Linked DNA regions of Homo sapiens: all the other regions are linked to region 1. Evidence: promoter capture Hi-C in 16 types of primary human blood cells and fetal thymus (Javierre and others, 2016). All regions are on one chromosome and are shown on one strand. Each heading gives the region's core, a stretch centred on a gene start or on the middle of the fragment in contact. The rest is flanking DNA. Distances are from core to core; before and after follow the strand shown. Region 1 holds the start of KIF24 (kinesin family member 24). Region 2 holds the start of SIT1 (signaling threshold regulating transmembrane adaptor 1). Region 3 holds the start of CLTA (clathrin light chain A). Region 4 holds the start of NFX1 (nuclear transcription factor, X-box binding 1). Region 5 holds the start of HINT2 (histidine triad nucleotide binding protein 2).

The links. Contacts are between HindIII fragments. The CHiCAGO score rates a contact against its expected background, and 5 or more counts as called.
Region 2: the fragment with the promoter of SIT1 here is called in contact with the fragment with the promoter of KIF24 in region 1 in 1 of 17 cell types (neutrophils); the score reaches 6.1 in neutrophils.
Region 3: the fragment with the promoter of CLTA here is called in contact with the fragment with the promoter of KIF24 in region 1 in 1 of 17 cell types (erythroblasts); the score reaches 5.4 in erythroblasts.
Region 4: a contact is called between the fragment with the promoter of NFX1 here and the fragment with the promoter of KIF24 in region 1, in 1 of 17 cell types (neutrophils). The highest score is 6.3, in neutrophils.
Region 5: the fragment with the promoter of HINT2 here is called in contact with the fragment with the promoter of KIF24 in region 1 in 1 of 17 cell types (neutrophils); the score reaches 6.7 in neutrophils.

The regions. Positions count from the first base shown.
Region 1 is chr9:34,327,681-34,331,775 of GRCh38, forward strand. It overlaps KIF24 (kinesin family member 24), which reads right to left and starts at 1,588. Exons shown (of 13, transcript NM_194313.4): 1 at 1,426-1,588. It overlaps NUDT2 (nudix hydrolase 2), which reads left to right and starts at 1,889. Exons shown (of 5, transcript NM_001161.5): 1 at 1,889-1,919. RefSeq lists enhancers at 1,255-1,314, 1,415-1,514, 1,602-2,109, 1,645-1,834. The HindIII fragment of the contact is 30,936 bases long and covers 1-3,579 here.
Region 2 is chr9:35,648,649-35,652,180 of GRCh38, forward strand. It overlaps SIT1 (signaling threshold regulating transmembrane adaptor 1), which reads right to left and starts at 2,283. Exons shown (of 5, transcript NM_014450.3): 1 at 2,106-2,283; 2 at 1,854-1,989; 3 at 1,709-1,767; 4 at 1,536-1,597; 5 at 647-1,433. The coding sequence starts at 2,205. The coding sequence ends at 1,200. RefSeq lists an enhancer at 1,034-1,083 and a silencer at 1,994-2,063. The HindIII fragment of the contact is 5,575 bases long and covers 1,032-3,532 here.
Region 3 is chr9:36,189,132-36,192,729 of GRCh38, forward strand. CLTA (clathrin light chain A) reads left to right here and starts at 1,790. Exons shown (of 5, transcript NM_001833.4): 1 at 1,790-2,142. The coding sequence starts at 1,926. RefSeq lists enhancers at 1,425-2,050, 1,766-1,985. The HindIII fragment of the contact is 1,815 bases long and covers 684-2,498 here.
Region 4 is chr9:33,288,406-33,292,244 of GRCh38, forward strand. It overlaps NFX1 (nuclear transcription factor, X-box binding 1), which reads left to right and starts at 2,111. Exons shown (of 24, transcript NM_002504.6): 1 at 2,111-2,192. The coding sequence starts at 2,168. It also overlaps the pseudogene LOC100862682. RefSeq lists enhancers at 40-1,001, 1,707-2,126, 2,137-2,186, 2,156-3,355, 2,337-2,386. The HindIII fragment of the contact is 6,050 bases long and covers 1-3,839 here.
Region 5 is chr9:35,813,235-35,816,888 of GRCh38, forward strand. It overlaps HINT2 (histidine triad nucleotide binding protein 2), which reads right to left and starts at 1,808. Exons shown (of 5, transcript NM_032593.3): 1 at 1,665-1,808; 2 at 410-550; 3 at 211-315; 4 at 32-104. The coding sequence starts at 1,745. It overlaps FAM221B (family with sequence similarity 221 member B), which reads right to left. Exons shown (of 7, transcript NM_001012446.4): 7 at 3,157-3,654. RefSeq lists silencers at 1,621-1,940, 2,271-2,450 and an enhancer at 2,001-2,180. The HindIII fragment of the contact is 5,278 bases long and covers 1-3,654 here.

The DNA.
Region 1 (4,095 bases), core at 338-2,837:
TAGAGCCACAGGAATTTTAATCTAATTCAATTCTTTGATTTTCCAGATGGAAAAAATGAGGTCTAAAGGGGCTAGATTCAGGCGTTCAAGGCTGCGGTGAGCTATTATCATGCTAGTGCACTACAGCCTGGGTGACAGAGCAAGACATTTTCTCTAATAAAAAAAAAATAATAATAATAATAAAGGGACTAAATGACTTGCAAAGCCACCCACAGTGAATTAGAGACAGAGACAGAGCCAAAGCCAAACCCACATGTAGTGGGTTTCCACTACATGTCACAGCTATAAGGTAGTGTTTCAAACTTTTATAAAAGGGTAACAAGAACATAGCTGCTGTACTGAACTTTTTCACTCCTTTTATTAAGGCCACCAGTGAGCTATGAATTTGATATAAGGAGCAATCACACCAACAATCAGGCTGTGAATATATAATCCATGAGTTAACAACGAAACAGTCTTAGGAACGCAATTCTATCATAGACACCTGATGAATAGATGGAGTTCACCTGAGCAGCTGTTATATGCACTTCAATAGAGAGACTACAAAGCCTCTCTACTTGTAGAATACAAGTACAAAGAAGATGCTTTAAAACATTTTCCAAAGCACACTTAAAATGTGACAATAGCTGCCGGTCACTAAGAAGCTAAAGGGAGATAAATTATCTTGGCATACAGCAACAGAATGGTTTATTTTAAGCAAAGACTAAAAGGAGTCTAATAAAATTATTGGGAGACCAAGGCTAAAAGCCACAGATGCAGGAAGAGTTGCAGCAACCAATCCAAAAAAGTTTAGCCTTTCACAAAGAGTAGAAAGGCCAGCTGTGGACTGTGTGTGGACTTTTAGGTCCTTTTGCATTGAAGATTAGGGTGGCCTCCCCCTAGCCTCGAAATAAAAAATCGTCTCTGAAGCAGAGAGACAACAAGGCAGGGCATGAAGAGGAATCCAATCTATTTCTTGTAAATTAAATTCAACTCAACAAATATTTCCTGAAAATCTACTATGTGCAAGACATTGTGAACGATGCTTGCCTTACCTCAAAGGCTTCAAAATTTTATGGGAAAAGGGAAGCGAACGGGCTTCCCGGAAGTAAACAACCCAAGGGCGAATAGAAATGCCCTAAAAGAGGTGCCGGTCAGGCTTATCGGTTCAAAAGCAAGAAGGCTTTGGGACTCAAGAGTTTAGTCTCCCAAAGTGAGAGAAGTGGCGTTCAAGATAATTGCTGAAGAAAAGGCAGAGATATGGGGATGAAAGATAGGAAAGTAGGTGAACTTTAGGAAGAGCCAAGAGGGGCCAACTCTCGGTTCCCTCACAACTGCCAGTTTCCTCCCGCGCTCAGCCGACGTCACGCGCACCCGTGTCCGCGGGCAGGCGCCACGGTTCCGGACCAGACCTACCCCTCCTCTATTCTCCCCGCCCTTTCTCACCTCGGTCCAAACTCCTCGGTCTGCCCTGTCTGAGAAGAGGAGAAGACAATGCCGTCGGGAGTGAGCCCCAAAGCCCGCAACCTAACAGTCCCGTCAACCCGGGAGCCACCGGCGGCGGCCAGGCCGCATCTCCATGGCAACGCCGCCAAGCGCCAGTTCGAACGCCCGCGCTGTGGCCCGCGCGTCGCCAGTCCCGCACCGCCCACCAATGGGCATCCAAGGAATCGGTTGACGTTCGTTGACTTCTCCTCTGGAAGACCAATCAGAGGTCTGAAGAAACCGTGGGCGTAACTCTCAATTTCCGACCTTCAGCCAATCGTTCCGCTTGAGGGAAGATCTCGCGACGTTTCAGTGTGAGACGCGCACCTTTGAGGCGGGTCGAAGATCCTTCTGCCGAATTCTATTGATGGGCCCAAGCGTAACCAGGCTCTTCTGATTGGCCGGTGTACTTCAGTTTCCGTCCAAGGTCCGCCTCCTACCTCCTTCTGCTTCGGGTGAGTACCCTTAAGGGCCCACTTGATTTTAGTTCTCAGTGGAGGAAATGAGCCTTGGAGCGATGGGAATCTGCCTCTGGCAAACCTCTGGTCGCTGCAGGGCCCGAGAGGGATGCGCCCTCCTCTAAGTTGGCAGTGAGGTGTGGGCAGGCCAGGTCCCATCCGCTCTCAGGACCTCAGTTTTCCTGTCTGCACCGGGAGAAGGGAGGTTCCCTGACTCTGAGCCTTGCTTGTCCCCGTCGGAGTGGGGATAGGGTGGGTCGTCCAAATCCCAGAGGCGGGAGAGGTCCAGGTTTAGGGCCCAGAGGCCCAGGCGCCGAACCTTCCCCTCCCTGGGCCTCAGTTTCACTTGTTGCTACCCATTAAACCCCGCCTGCTTTCCAAAAGAGATTTTATGTTTTCTAATTGCTTCAGTTATTGAATGGATAATATCGTGGCAGTTATAGCAGAAGTAAAGAAAGTCGAACAAGAGCCCCACCGCCTTAAACAAACAAACAAAAAAGGGACAGCGTAAACAATGCAGGCCGGGTGCGGTGGCTCACGCCTGTAATCCCAGCATTTTGGGAGGCCAAGGCGGGCGGATCACGAGGTCAGGAGATCGAGACCATCCTGGCTAACACGGTGAAACCCCGTCTCTACTAAACAAAATACAAAAGTTAGCCAGGCGTCGTGGCGGGCACGTATAGTCCCTGCTACTCGGGAGGCTGAGGCAGGAGAATGGCATGAACCCAGGAGGCGGAGCTTGCAGTGAGCGGAGGTCGCGCCACTGCACTCCAGCCTGGGCGACAGAGCGAGACTCCGTCTCAAAAACAAAACAAAACAAAAAAAAACTGAATGCAATCAAATTGTCAAATGTAAAACGCTATTATAGAGTTAAGGTTAAGATCATTGATGTTAGGAGTCAGGCAGACCTACATTTGAGTCACTTACCCAGACATCTCTGAGCTATAGTTCCCTTTCTACTCTTCTGAAAAATGGCAGTAATGCCTCAGCGGGTTGTTGTGAAGATTAAGTGAAATAATGAAGGTAAAGCACTTGACACAACGCCTGGCGAGTAGTAACTTCTTAAAAAATGGTAGCGGCCGGGCGCGGTGGCTCACGCCTGTAATCCTAGCCCTTTGGGAGGCCGAGGCGGGCGGATCACGAGGTCAGGAGATCGAGACCATCCTGGCTGACACGGTGAAACCCCGTCTCTACTAAAAACACAAAAAATTAGCCGGGCGTGGTGGCGGGCGCCTGTGGTCCCAGCTACTCGGGAGGCTGAGGCAGGAGAATGGCACGAACCCGGGAGGCGGAGTTTGCAGAGAGCAGAGATCGCACCACTGCACTCCAGCCTGGGCGACAGAGGGAGACTCCGTCTCAAAAAAAAAAAGGTAGCTATTATTCTTATAATAAGAACAGGCAAATACACTAGTCAGTGCGTTGGTGTACTTTTTGTAACTGAGTACCCAATTTTGCCCAAAATTAGTCAGTTAAGGGAAAAAAGGTAATTCTTACTAATAAGGAAACAAATCCATTCTTCAAAAGATAAATTATTTTTCTAGTTTCTATATTAAAAGGAATTTATGCTGTGGGACCTTATAAGGAATATATATACTGTGGTGAACAGTGTTGAGCAGTTTAACAGACAAGATGAAAAGTCATTTCTTTAAAACAGAGAAGCTTTTTGATGATCTTTTATGACACACGGGTAACAGTAACTCATATATTTAGTACCTCTGATAATGTCAGACCCTCTATATATGTCATTTATAAACTCCACAACAACCATGCAAAGTAGGTGTTAACTTCATTTTACAAATGAGGAAGTTAAGTATCTTGCTCTAAGTATCTTGCTCTATTAACTTCAATAGCTAGGCCTTTCTGACTGCATAGACAGCCATGCTTTTCTGTGTTTCTGACTAAAGGAGGATGAAAATGCTTGGAATACCAGACAGATGCAGGGGCAGGTTGGACAGCTTGACTTACCTAAATTGGAGGGAATGTGAGCTGCAGAGGTACCTATGGTAGGAGCAATATCTTGCTCTAATAGAAAATTTTCACCGTGGTCTTGGTAGAGAAGGGAGGAGAAAAAAATTGTTTTAATAAAAATAATTTTAAAAAAGTAAATTCCCACCTTGGGAAATGAAGAGATAGGATGAGATGATCACTGAACTTTAGACCCATCTGTTCATTT
Region 2 (3,532 bases), core at 1,033-3,532, 1.3 Mb after region 1:
GATGGGTGGACAGGCAGGACAAATTAGATGGGGATTAAAATGAAAGTGGTGACAAGCAAAACTGTTGCCAAGACTGCAGGTGACAACTGAGAGAGTGAAGGCCAGGCACGGTGGCTCATGCCTGTAATCCCAGCACTTTGGGAGGCCAGAGTGGGAGAGAGTGAGTGGAGATGGACCGCTGCCATAGTGATGGGGTAAGGAGAAGGCCTCTAGGGGTATACGATGACTAAGTGCAGATAAGGCTACTGATGTCAAAACAGGGGTATAGGTGGGACTCATAGCGGACAGACGGAGGTCAGATTGGAGGACTTGATGAAGGAACCAGGCTGGCAGGTTGTGGAGGTGATGGCAGTTATAGAGGTCAAGGGGAGAGTAGCTCAGGACTGTGAGCTTGCAGCCCCAGGGGGAATGCAGTGGCTCTGAGTGCAGATCCCAGGGGTGTTCTAGCAGCAGCAACAGCAGCTGAGGAGCTGGGCTCTGGCCCTCCACCCCGGTGCCCACCTCTGCACTGTTGATGCCGCAGCCCCTCTTGGCCCCTCATCCCCAGCTAGGCACCCCCAGAAAGAGCTCCGTGCAGACAGCAAAGCTCACACCCCCATCTGCAGGGCCCTTTGCAAGTCTTCAGCCTTCTAGGTAAAAATCTAAACACTTTTTGGAAAGTTTTATTTGAAAACTTGGGGACAGGACAGAGACAGCAGGATGGAGACTGTATTCTCCTGCTAGGGTTCTTAGGTCAAAAGCCAGGCTCGGGTCCCTCCCGTCTCTAAGTTCCAGGTCCACTCCAGTCTGTGGACTCCTGAGGAATATACCCACCCACCCACTGTCAGGCCCTTACCCCTCCCCCACCGCCCACTTCCTGTGCCTGAGGAGACACTGAGGCGTGGGGGTAGACTATGAGGGAGCGGGGGTGGGGAGGATCTGGTTAAACTCCAGAAGAAGGAAGTGAGAACCTGGGAGTTTGGGGGCTAAGAGGAACAGATAGAAAAAAGAAATAAGGAGGGGGCTACTGTCTTTGCCTCCTCCATCACGAAAGCTTTGCCCTGAGATGTCTCCCTTGAAGCTCAGATAGGAAGTCCGGGGTAGATCACATCCTGTGACTTGGCAATGGCGCCCGTCTTTGGGTGCTGGTTGGGAAACAGTCATGCCCCTGCTACGGGGGGCTGGGGCAGTGCACGCCCCGCTGTGCCAGGCCCTCCATCTCAGCTGGCTGCAGGCTGGCTGTTGGCATAGGCCTGATCCGGGAAGGAGGCCCGGGCCCTGCGGGTCTGGGCACATACTGAGGCATAGAGCTCCGGCTCGGGGCCCGAGGCCTGGGACTTTGGCTCAGAGTCCAGCACCACCTCCGAGTACTTGACGGGGGTTCCAGGACCGGGGATCCGACCCTGAGGAGGCCGCAGCTGCAGGCTGGTATAGCACATCACCTCCTCTGCAGCCTGGAGATGCAAGGCTGTTAGAAGTTCACTGGACCCTCGGAAAAGCCCGAAAAGCCCCCCACTTCCTTCCCTCCCCCTTTTCTCCAGCCACAGTTGACTCACCCTGGCAGGGCCTCCAAGAGTTGGATCCTGCTGGTCTGGCTCTGGGTCTTGAGACAGCCGTCCTGGGACGGGGAACAGGAATCTGGTCAGCAACTTGTCCTTCCTCCTGCACGCCCCCATCCCAGCCACCCAGGACCTGGCCTCTGTGCCCCTCCTCTCTGCCAGCTCCCTACCTGTCTGTAGATAATGCAGGTTCCCATACAGCGGGACCTCTTCCACAGACTCTCCAGAGCTGCAACGCAGAGTTTAGGGGATGAGTGGGGACTTCTCGGTAAGAGAGAACTCTCAGTCAACCCATCCCTGTTGTCCTTCACCCACCGTCCCTGCCCCGGATGGCTCCTGCTCCGGCCCCTGGTCCACTGGGACAAGTGTGCAGCCAGCGAGATGAGAAATAGCAGCGTCACAGCCCCTAAGAGGACCCACAGTCCCCAGGCCTGGGTTATGGAGGGGATTCCTGTGGATGTGAAAGGAAGGGGGGTGTAACAGCCCCGCCCCACCCCCAGGGCCCAGCAGGTGGGACCTGGGGCCACATGACCCCTCCCCCACCAGCCCCTGCCCTGCCCAGCTCACCCAGTGCGAGTAGATCCGTGCAGTTGTCGCCTCTGCTCATGGCTGCAGATGTGAGAGTCCACAAGCACACTGCTCTGAGCCGAGGGTCAGCCTGGTTCATGGCCTGACGGTTTCCACAGCACTTCTTACTCCCATCCCTCCTCAGGCCCGTACCCCGCAGCTCAGCATCCCCAATACTGGTGGTGGCAAAGTCTCTGGTTTCCGGGGAGGAAGGGGGAGGGGAGGGATGAAAAAAAGAACAAAGACCCCGCCCTGTGCCTGCACCTGCGCCACTCCTGCAGCTCCTGAGCTTCCCCCACCCTCGCTGCCCAGGCCCTTTGCCCCCCTTGAGAAGAGAAGCAGGCCTGTGGGTAATGTGCCACGGGCAGTTGAGTCCCTGAGGACTCTGAGGGCGGGGGGTGGGGGCAGAAGTGGTGTGAAGCAGGACTAACAAGGACAGGAACACCCCTTCTGCTCCAGGATGCCCACCTTCCTCCCTGACTCTGGTCCCAGAAGAAAGATGTATTCCTCAATGAGTATGGTATAAAGTGGAAGGGTCGGGGGAGCCTCCTGGTACCTCTGATCCCATCACACCCTAAGGCTGATCTGAGAGGATATGTGTTTAGATGATGCTTGTTATTGTTTCATTGGGGGCATTATAATTTGGGGGACACCCCCAAACCTCCCCTTTCAACCCACTTCATCCAAACTGTCTGTAAGAACTGTCACTCTCAATAATTAATTGCATTTTAAAACTCTTTGCTGTAGGACTGTCCTGGGAAACTGAGCCCTATCTTGCACATGTTCACTTCAGCGGGTGTAGTACCTGCCATACCTAGAGCTAACTCCATCACGTGCAAGGCTATTGATGTAGGAAGAGGGATTTTAAGTTGCAAATATAAACCTGAGACCAGAAGTCAGAGATGTGTTTTGTCTAGCCCATACAACATTTTTTAAAAGTTTAAAATCAGTGCAGTGGCATGCCAACAATAGGGATGGCAGAAGTCCTGCCCCTTGAGTTGCAGGCAATAAGGGGGTGCATTGTCTGTAGAGAATTTAAAAAATAAAAATCAGTCCTCTTATTATCACCATGTTCCAGAAATTCTGAAAAAAAAAATCAGTGATAAAATTATCCTCCCTGAAAAATATTTTATGGATCTAAGTTTTATATTTTTTTTGAGACAGGGTCTTACTTTGTCTCCCAGGTTGGAGTGCAGTAACACAATCTCAGCTCACTGCAGCCTTGACGATCTCCCGGGCTCAAGTGATCCTCCCATCTCAGCCACCTAAGCAGCTAGGACTACAGGCATGTGCCACCACACCCAGCTAATCTAGTTCATTTTTTGTAGAGATAGGTCTCCCTGTGTTGCCAGGCTGGTCTCAACTCCTGACCTCAAGCAACCTGCCCACCTCGGTCTCCCAAAGTGCTGGAATTACAGGCATGAGCC
Region 3 (3,598 bases), core at 540-3,039, 1.9 Mb after region 1:
ACTGTCCCCAAAACATGCCAAACATTTTCCCACCTCTGAACTTTTACATGACACTAACATTAGACCCTCATTATTGACTCTTCTAAACGTTCCCCATATTTCAAAACTGAGCTCCAAGCCACCTCTGTGAAATCATCCGTAAACACATCAGCTATTCCTCCAATTTTGAGTGTATACTTGTTTGTTGCTTTTGCATAATATGTAATGCCTCCTCTAGCAAGGGAATCACAGGAGAGTTTCTCCCAAAGTCATGCATTTCCCCAAAAAGAATGCTGTCTGTTCCGGAGCTACTACTGTTGTGAGCAACTAAAAGTTGTCTTCCTTGGGCTCTCTCATAGTAGTCCCTGCCCCTCTTTTCCTCATGAGACTATGTCAAGGCTAATGTGAAAATACTTCATGCACTGTTGCCAATGTATGTTAGGGATGAGCATAAAACAACAGACAAGGGGAAACAGAATCAATTGCAGACCCTAACATTTTAACTTTCTTAAATGTTTTTCTTCAACACTTTCCTATGGTTCATACTTTAAATGACTTTAAAATTATGCTTTAAGTAAATATATGCTTTAAATAATTTTTATTTGCTTCATTTTTCCTTCATAGCTATCCCTTTTTTTTTGTCATCAAAGATATGTGCGTTTTTTATAAAAACACTTTCTTGTCCCCTGCTGACTACCTCTGGAAGCTTCTTGTTGACCTCTGGTTTTTTGGTTTCTTTTTTTGGCTTTTCATTTCTTAGGGTGGTGGTGGTGGTAGTGAAGGAGAGGGGTCTTCTGGTGGCCCCTGCATAAGCACTCCCCCTCAACATGAGCATGATTAACTGGAACCACTGTTATTTCTGTGGTGTAGACAAAATGAGCCATGTAGCTATTAACATCTCCCTGATTTAAAAAGAAACACGGAACTTTCTTTTTCCTGCTGTCCTTAGGGAGGAAAGGTGTAAATATAAGAGACTGTAGCTAGTATCTTGGAAGTCCCCAGGAGACAGGCGTTTCCTCTTGGTCACTGACTCTCTGGGTCACTGACGCTCCTTGAACAGCAGGGCCACCGTGTCTCCCTTTGAAGCAAGTGATCCTTAAGGAATTTTCCAGGTTTAGTAACTTCTGTCTAGCTCCGAAAAGACGTAATGGCTGCAAAAGTGCTTCGTTGAAGAAGATAAGATATATTCATTTTTAAATAAAAATACTTATGGGCGAGAAAAATCGGAGTGGACTGAATCAATTACAGTAAATCTATGGGCTCTAAGGGAGCAAATAATCCAGGCTGGCTGAAAGAATTAAATATTTTAAATTTATAAAGCCAGGGACCCTCAAATCCATAAAAGGATTCAATCTTCTTCTTCTTTTTTTTTAGGATTCAATCTTCTAATAATCCCGGGAGGGGGCGCAAGAGCAGGATTCTTGTTTCTATTTTACGAATGAGGAAACTGAGGTTCAGAAAGCCTAAGTGGCATGCCTCTTCAGTAATCGGCCAATCGTCGCTGCCCTAACTTCACCTCACCTCCCAGTGCAGCACTAGAGTCCCCTCAGGGGTGGCCGTCCCTGGTCAGTCCAGCTCCAGCAGACGGGGTGGGTAGGACGCTCCCTATCAGGCAGCACTTCCGCCTCCCGGGGCCCGCGCAGCTCACCTCCCTCACCTCCCGCCCTACCCCAGTCACGAGTTGTTTTAGGGGGACCGCCCCTCCACTTGCTGATTGGGTAGCTCCTGAACCATTGTTGTCCTCTGATTGGTTGTTCCCTTTTCGGCTCTGCAACACCGCCTAGACCGACCGGATACACGGGTAGGGCTTCCGCTTTACCCGTCTCCCTCCTGGCGCTTGTCCTCCTCTCCCAGTCGGCACCACAGCGGTGGCTGCCGGGCGTGGTGTCGGTGGGTCGGTTGGTTTTTGTCTCACCGTTGGTGTCCGTGCCGTTCAGTTGCCCGCCATGGCTGAGCTGGATCCGTTCGGCGCCCCTGCCGGCGCCCCTGGCGGTCCCGCGCTGGGGAACGGAGTGGCCGGCGCCGGCGAAGAAGACCCGGCTGCGGCCTTCTTGGCGCAGCAAGAGAGCGAGATTGCGGGCATCGAGAACGACGAGGCCTTCGCCATCCTGGACGGCGGCGCCCCCGGGCCCCAGCCGCACGGCGAGCCGCCGGGGGGTCCGGGTGAGAGTGCGGGCGCGTTTGGGGCGAGAGGACTTGTCTGGAAACTCGGTCCACAGTGGGTCCGAGAGCTTCTGTGTGACTCGTGCTCCTTGCTGAATTAGGAGGTTAGGGAGCAGTGCAAACAGGAAACGAGACCCTGGCCCGGTCTTTCAGAAACCTAGGCTCGAGAAGCCTGTTCGGTTCTCAGCATGTTTGAGTGCTTCTGGGCGCGGGCGGAGCGAGAAAGCAAGTGTAGGGTGGCAGGCTCCGGAGCCGGAAGAAGCCCGTTCAATTCAGCAACTTTTCATTAAGCATTTGCTGTGCCTTTAGTCCGGTCTCTGAAGCAACCGCATTGGCGCAGTTTTTCCAGACTTATAAGCTTATAAGTCTGAGCCGAGCACAGAACTCGTTATTAGAAAAGGAGGGCGGAAAAAAATAAGAATGGAAATATCGTTTTTGAGAGATACAAACAAAAGTAGCAATGCAGTTCAGCATTTAAGCACTTAAGGTGTACAGAGTGTTGGATTACGAGGAGGAAGGAGGGAGTAGGGAACTCGAAAGATGATCTAGGTCTGGAGAAAGAACTGCCAAGCGCGGTAGGAGTTTGCTATCGTTGAGCGATTGATTTACAGCTAGGACTTCTGGAGCTCTTCCTCTGGGAACAGCTTTGGTAGGCAATATTGCCTAAGCAGAACCCAAGATTAGCCTAAACCAATCAGGGAGGGATGAAGAGGTGAATAGAGAATGTTCTCAGCCAAACTCAAGTAAAAATGGGGCAGGTAGGATGGCAGTTTGACCTTTGGATGCCTTAACCTGTGTGTGATGCTTAGGATCATGAGTGGAAAAGACCTACTTAATAATACAAAGAAGTAGGAAATTTAGCTAGAAGAAATGAAATACGGCTTTTCATTCACTTAAAAAATTCCAACTAAGGGAGAATAGGGCACTACTGGGGCATATAGGAGTAGTGTCTACCCTAAATTCAAACCTTAAGGAGCCAGGTAGGTAACATATACGAGAGAAGCTGGCTTGACATGAGACAGTAGAAGTGTTGGAGACTGAGGCTTTGCTGCACTATAGTAGTGCTCTGTGTAAAGGCATTCAGATCCAGCAGTCTCAAGTTACTGTGCCAGCCAGGCGGAACCTTTTGATGGATGGGTTGGTGGGTGTGCTGCTAGTTTGCAGCCTCTTGAGTTTTTGACTGCACCATGTTGCTTCCTAAACAAATCAGTCCCCCAATAAGAACTTAGTGGGAACATGTAATATGCCCGAATATGCAACTTTATAGCGGGTAGGTTGGACTAAACTAGGCTGTGATTGTGAGATGAAGTTGGCCTTAAGTGATTAGGGGATATTTTCATTGGGTGGTCTCTAACATTTGTCTGAGAATTTTAAAATTGACTTCTTAGACCCTTAGTTTAACCTTCCTCATTTAATAGAAGAGAAGCAATCCTAGAGAGAAACGACTTGCTTAAAA
Region 4 (3,839 bases), core at 861-3,360, 1.0 Mb before region 1:
GACTCCAGTCCCAGCTGCTGCCTAGGCTCCTGTGGGTCCGACCGGGTTCCCCCTCCCCTGTCCACCTTCCCCAACAGGGCTATAGTTTCAGGGTGTCCCAGGCCTTGGCTGGTTGGCTGGGCCCAGCTCCTGGGGGCTGGGCAGGGCAGGGCAGGGCAGGGCCGGGTCCACTTCCATTGTTAGCAGTTGTTTGCAGAATTTTCTCTGTTACCATTCCTCTCTTTTTGTTCTCGCCCAGAGTGGGTGGTTTTTTGTTGTTGTTTTAGATTTTCATGTGAAGGCAGAGAGTTTTTTTTCTTTTTTAACTCCCCATCCCCCTATGCGGGGTGTCATTTCACCATCCACATCCTTGTTTGCGTTTCTGGCCCTCGTCCTCCCTGCCTCTCCTCTGCCTCCCCAACCCCCGCCTACCTACTGCTCCCAGGGGTCTCTCCAGGGGCAGGGGGATTTCAGGAGATGGGGTGGGGGCCAGCCCCTACTGGACCCTTGTAATCTGATTTGAAGACCATCCCCCTGATGGGACCAGCAGCCCCGCTGGCCCACTGGGGGTCCCTCTTAACATCTGCTTGTTGTGGGGGTCAGTGCCACGGTCTGCTGGGGTCTTGGCACTGTCTTCCTGGCCGGGGCCTGGCACCTTAGCCCCCAGCCGGCCCGAGTGGGGGATATCGACACCCCCAGCTAAAGCACAAGCACCTTAGTCATCCCTCCTCTCCCCCTGCCTCCTGGCCTGCCACCCCACCCCAGCGTTTACCCCAAAGCACAATGCCCTGGTCACTTGGCAAGTGGCTGGGCCTGACGGAGGCCAAGGGGCAGACCGGGGCTCCAGCCAGACCCCCGAAAGGAAGCAGGTGCTCCCCCACTTCCAGGACTTAGTTGGGGCGGGGGGCCCAGCTCCTGGGCCTAGGGTCTTCTCACCCCCACCCCCTTGTCCTGGGTAGGCCCCTGCCTGCCCCTCTCTGCCTTTTCCTCGGGTGTCCCTCCTCGAGCCCCTGCGGCACTGGCTTGGGTGGCAGAGCCCACTTGTTTCAGGGACCCCAGGAGGTGGTGCCCCCTGGCTCCTGGGACTGTGTGTGGGTCTGGGGGGTGGGGGGGTGGGGAGAAGCGTCGGGCAGGGGGTGCAGGGGAGGAAACTCCTCACCAGGAAAGCCAAAGACAGGGTTGTGCCTTACCTCAGGAGCCACCCGTTCCCCCTTGCCCTGCCGTTCACCCTCCACCTTTCCCCCCGGGCGGCCTGCTGCTTTTTCCTTCTCTTCCTCCCCTGCCCTGCCCTGAGCTGCATGGTTCCCCTACCCTGGGAAGCCAGGAAGGAATCTGAATGGAGAATCACCAACCACCAAAGAAAAAAAGACTGCGGGGCCCTCCCCTGCCAACTCCCCTTCCCTGGCCGCCCACTCACCCACACCTCTTTCACGCAGGACAGGCTGCCCACCCTGTCCACGTGAAGTGCCAACGCCCTCCCCACCCTGGGCCGAGCCCCCACCCCTCCCTGGGCCCCCAAGTGAGATTGCACATTTAACTACTGTAAGGAGAGGAGCGGCGTTGGCAAATGTGAACCATGAGAATATCGGTGATACTGATGAGAATAAACGCCTTTGTAAAAAAAAAAAAAAAAAAAAAAGTCTGGAGCCAGGCGTGGTGGCTCGCCTGTAAGCCAAGCACTTTAGGAGGCCAAAGCGGCAGGATCGCTTGAGGCCAGGAGTTGGAGAGACTAGCCTGGGCAACATGGCGAAACCCGTCTCTACTAAAAATAGCTGCGCATGGTGGCTCCGCCTGTAGTTCCAGCTACCGGAAGGCTGAGGCGGGAGGATTAGAGACTGAAGCTATAGTGAGCCATGATCAGACCACTGCACTCAAGCCTGGGTAAGGCAGCAAGACCCTATATCAAAAAATAAAAAAAGGAAAACCACAATGATTACGCAAGTCGCCGCCCTCCCTCCTGCGATTGTTGCTATTTCCATCCAGCTACTAGTCTCCTCCTCCCGCCCGACACCTGGCGCGTCTATCTGACGTCACGAACGCGCCACACAGATTCGGGCTGCGCAACCTCTGTGGCCGTCTACACGGCGCGCAGATGCGAATATTCTCGCGGCGCCGGAAGTCCGGGGCACGTGACCTGGTGACAGTGCTGACTTGGCTGTACAGCTCGATCTAGGTTCTGCGGCACGGGATGGCGGAGGCGCCTCCTGTCTCAGGTATTGTCCCGGCCCGAGCGGGACTGGGCCCCTTTCAGGGAGCGGAAATTGGGTCAGTGACGAAGTTCTAGGGCCTCAGCCACTCATATCGCGAGAGTAGCACATGCTAGGGCGTAGGATAGTGGCTCGGAAGGGCCAAGCCCCGCGCATCGTGCGTACGAAGATCTGTGTCTTCTTGGACTAGATGGTGAAGCCCAGTAGCTGGGTTTCGGAGGAGAGAGGACTTGTCCCGGCGCTGCGAGTCGATGTGGGTGCCCTGCCTTCCCACAGGCTGTTTCTGGGGCAGCGGCGCACTGACCTTCGACAGGCGGGCGTCGGCCAGGTCACAGCCAGTGACGGTGGCGGGCTCTTGACGTGTAGGGTGTGGTGTGCTCATACCGCCTGGAGTGGTGGCGTGGGCGCGAGCCGAATTCCAGTAGTTTAGAGTCTCAGCCTGCTGCGAACCCCGTGTGACTCAGTCTCAGTCTCCTCATCTGTCAGTTGGGAGTAGATAAGTTAATTCCTGTGATGGCTCCCGCCCTGTACTGTACCTATTCTGTAATTGTTCACTCACTCCCCCTCCTGGAGTTGCCTCAGTGTGTAGAGACAGCCTCATTTGTTCGTTGATATAACATCCATTTCCTCAGGGTGTTCCATAGATCAGTGTTTTCCAAATGTGTTGGACAGCAACCAAAAGAAACATTTTGCATCGCGACCTTAAATATTGTACACTTACATAAATATAAAAGCGAACCAGAAGTTTCTGGAAGCAGTGAGGTTGGTTGGTTTGTTTTACAATCAGCAATATATTCTGTTTTCTGTTTCGTTTAAAAATATGTCACAGCCCACTGCCTTCATTTGATTTTATGGCCCACTCTGGAAAACAGGGCAGCAGTTTGCAGAATGGAGTTTGGAAACCATTGGTTTGAATCTCAGCTCTGTCCCTGACCAGCCGTTGGGGCACCAAGAAGACCATATATGTATTTGTATACTGGGTGGCAGGTAAAATGTATTTATTACTATGGTTCTTAGTTTAAAAAGTTAGGGCCGGGCGTGGTGGCTCACGCCTGTAATCCTAGCACTTTGGGAGGCCGAGGTGGACGGATCACGAGGTCAGGAGATCGAGACCATCCTGGCTAACACGGTGAAACCCCGTCTCTACTAAAAATACAAAAAATTAGCTGGGCATGGTGGCACGCGCCTGTAGTCCCAGCTACTCCGGAGGCTGAGGCAAGAGAATTGCTTGAACCCTGGAGGCGGAAGTTGCAGTGAGCCAAGATCGTGCCACTGCACTCCAGCCTGGGCGACAGAGTGTGACTTCGTCTCAAAAAAAAAAGTTGGAAAACACACTGCATTGGTGTACCCTAGTCTTGATGTGGATATTAAGTCTTCCTTGGGGTTGGAAAACTTTTTGGGCTGGGTATTTTGTTATTCTCCTCACCTAGTCCTTCACCAGATTCTCTAAACTGGATCTATTGATCGTCTCATCCACAGGCTCGTTTCTGACTCATTTCTGTACCCTTCAGTGTTTGAAGAAGAATTCGGTGGGGCCTAGTTGTGAGTCTTCGTGTTGAACTTTGGTGTTGTGCCCAAGTTATTACCTCCAACCCAGAAAGTATCTAATGAGGCAAAATCTTCTAGTCCAAAGACCTCCTTACTCCTTTTCAT
Region 5 (3,654 bases), core at 558-3,057, 1.5 Mb after region 1:
GGTGAGGGACCAAGGGCCAAAAGTCACTCACCAAGTCGGTATCCATCTCCCAGGCCCTCAGCCTTTGCTGTCTGCTTGGCCACAAGGAGTAGGTGTCCTAGAAGCTATAGAGAGAGCGGAGGGACATAGGTGGCTTCATTCATAGGGAGCAAGACCTCTAGCTGGGTCCAGGGGCTCCTCCCAGCCAAACCCTGGCCCTGTTCTTCCCACCTGCTGGTCTTCTTCTTCAGCCTGGCTAATCCGAGGAATGGGCTTCTTAGGAATGACCAGGAAGTGCACAGGAGCCTGAGGGGCCACATCACGGAACACAAGACACTGGGGGAAGTGACAGGCCAGAGGCCACGTTACTTCAACAGGTTGGATGGTATCTACAACATTCCTAAGGGGATAGGTCCTAAGAGCACCCCACCTGCTGGTCCTCATAGAGAATGTCAGCTGGGAGGCTCTTGTCCAGGATCCGGGAGAAGATGGTTGGGGCTGCTCCCCCAGGAGTTGCCTGCTGGGCCTTGGCCACTTCATTCCCATCAGTCACACCTGCAGCTCCTCGGACCTGAAGGTGGATCGACCATATTCAAAGGAGGGAGCTGGCAGAAGCTGGGCTCTGATAGTTGTTAATTTCGTCCTTCTAATAACCTATTCATCGTTCCCACCCAGGAGGAAAGTTCCTGAATTTCAGAGCACCAGCAGCAAAGGGTAGGGCCAGAAGGTGCTGGACCTGGTTAGATAACAGGCGGTATTATTATCAGGATTCAGCAGTGCAATTGATTCCTGCTCATGTGTCCACGAAATATAGCACTGTTTAGGGAAAGGATCTAGAATGAGAGACTGGGGATTTTGGTCTCAGTTCCTACCTTACCATACCACTGAATTACCTCAGATAAATTCCTTCTCTCAGCTTCTAATATAAAATAAAGGGATGGTTTCCATAATCTCTTGCGATGGCTTGAATCTCTTTCCACTCTCACCTTGTTAGTACATTTCCACTTATTTCCGTTACTTGTTTTCTGATCTTTAAGCCTTGTCGCCTGTTTTATTTAAGTTTTAATGCAATCGCCCTGTTTGACACTAGTTGACCCCTCATCTGGGTGTCACATGTGACTCTGTGAATTTTAACTCTTGTCCCTTGAATGAGTGGAGGTAAGAGTTCAGCTAAGTGACCTCTGCTCCCCTAGCCCCAGGGAACTTCGGGTAAGGGATTCAGAGAAGGCTGATGTCATTGCATCACGTTGGGGGAGAACGGGACGGAATGAATTCTCTGACCTCCGAGCCGCTTCTGGCAAGTGCAGAAGAGAGGTTAACACTAGTGCTCATTAGGAGGCCAGAAGCCTGAGGAGGGCAGAGCACTGGCTCCAAGAAGAGAAAGCTCATTTCCTGCAGGGGGCATCGGGCCAGCTGGGCTGCAGGCAGTGGAAAGAAGGCGGCAGCCGCTGCACTGACCCTGTCCCGACCTCGGCGCCCCGGCCTGCGCAGGGCGGGAATCAGCACCAGCTCGTTCTCCGGAGCCACCAGTTCGACCTCACCACACAGCCCCGGAGCTTGTGCCTCGGAGGGGCAGAGGCCACAGGCAGGAGCTCTGCGCGGCTCTGCGCGCCTTCGGGACCCCCTGGCCCCGGATGGCTTCGGAGCCCGCAGGACCCCCTACTCGCTCCCGCGCCACTTCTCACCTGCCCCCCGCGCACCCCCGTGGCCGCCACGGCTCTGCGCGCCGCGCGCAACCCAGCAGCCAGCACCACGGCTGCCGCCATCTTCCCTGAGCCGCGGGAACCTCTCACCCGGGTCAGCACTCGGCTCCGCGGCCGGCCGTGGGTGGGGACTCCGGGCGCGGGGAAGCGGGGTAGTGGCGGCCGGGCGAGCCCTGCTACCCCATTGGAGCGCGCCTCTGAGCACGATTCACCCCATTGCCTCTGCAGCCACTTTGGAGGCGGGCTCTTTTCATCTCATTGGCTGCTTCTACCAACGCGAGGACAATTTTCCATTCCATTGGTTTCGTCTTCTAGTCCGTGTGAACGTTCTTTTCCCATTGGATCCCCTTACTAGTTTCTCTGTGAGAGAAACTTCCACTCCATTGGAAGGATTAATGGAGCCTGGAGGTGGGATTTTCTCCTAGTTGAATCTGATACACAACTCTGGCTTCTAGGTTGCGGCTCCCGAGTGGGTGGTTCTTTTCGTTCTTGGTTCGTCCTCTTCAGGTCTGGTTCCTATTGGTGCGCGGGGAGAAGGGGGCGGGGCTCCGCCACCTGCTGCAGAAAGGGCTGTTTTAGACCCTCTCACCGCTTTGGCCAGGAGGAGGGCGGGGCTCTGAGGGCATCCGGCGCTTATTGGCTCCAAGAACCACCCGGGGTGGGGCTAAAGGTGAACGGGGATGAGGTGTGTTTTTTTGTGTTTGTTTGTTTGTTTTAACTGGCGGGGCTGATGCGCAGCATTTTCTCCACAAGGGCAGTTTCAGTCCCTTGAGCATTTTGGAGATTTTAATGTACTTATCTAAGGGAAATTCTTCCTTAATTCTATGTTCTTGTTAACGCATTCACTCCATAGATTAAAAAGTCTGTGGTTTTTGCATTTTTTTTTTTTGAGCAGGAGGAGATAAGAGTGTCCTATATTTGCCGCACAAGAATTATAATAAGCAAAGGAGTATGTATTCATTGTTCTTTTCTAATCGGAAAAGGTGTGTGATACAGTTAGCTCGGTGCCTGGTGTTTTCTTTTTTTTTCTTTTTTTCTTTTTTCTTTTTTTTTTTTTTTGAGACGGAGTCTCGCTCTGTCGCCCAGGCTGGAGTGCAGTGGCGCGATCTCGGCTCACTGCAAGCTCCGCCTCCCGAGTTCACGCCATTCTCCTGCCTCAGCCTCCCGAGTAGCTGGGACTACAGGCACCCGCCACCACGCCCGGCTAATTTTTTGTATTTTTATTAGAGACGGGGTTTCACCGTGTTAGCCAGGATGGTCTCGATCTCCTGACCTCGTGATCCTCCTGCCTCGGCCTCCCAAGGTGCTGGGATTACAGGTATGAGGCACCAATAAGTCAGGTTTGCACTGCTGGAATATATATTTTTGACATAAGAAACGTGGGGTCACAAAATACTAATATTCTCAGACGCTAGGTAAGTTTTAGTCTGATATCACATAGGACAAGTTACCACTGTTTCTTTGGTTTTTCTTTTTTTCTTTTTTTTTTTTTTAAACACATGACCTGATACATATAGGTGGTCAGTAATTGTTGAATGAATAACATTTGGTGTTTCCTGTCTTTTTTTCATAATATGTAATATGTATTGCATATGATACTAACCCATGTGTAATCAATTTTTCATATTTTTACAGTCTACGTAAATATAGTTTGTATTGGCTGCTTATTATTTCCTTCAATGAGTTTATCATAGTAATCCTAACTCTATTGTTGACTATTAGTTGAATTAGTTTTAGGTGAATGGTTATCATGGGGCATATAACCACTGTTGGGGAACTTTGCTTCTAGAGATATAACAATCTCTTTTGTATAGCTATATTATTGTTAGAAAATCCTTTCTCCTCTAAAGGGCAGACATTTGATTCTGTGATTTTCCCCAGGGATCCTAGCAGTCCAGATTGCATTCCTTCCCTTGGAGGAACAGATGGCCCCCCTAATTGTGAGGAAATGTAGAATGGCCTCTTCTCTGGG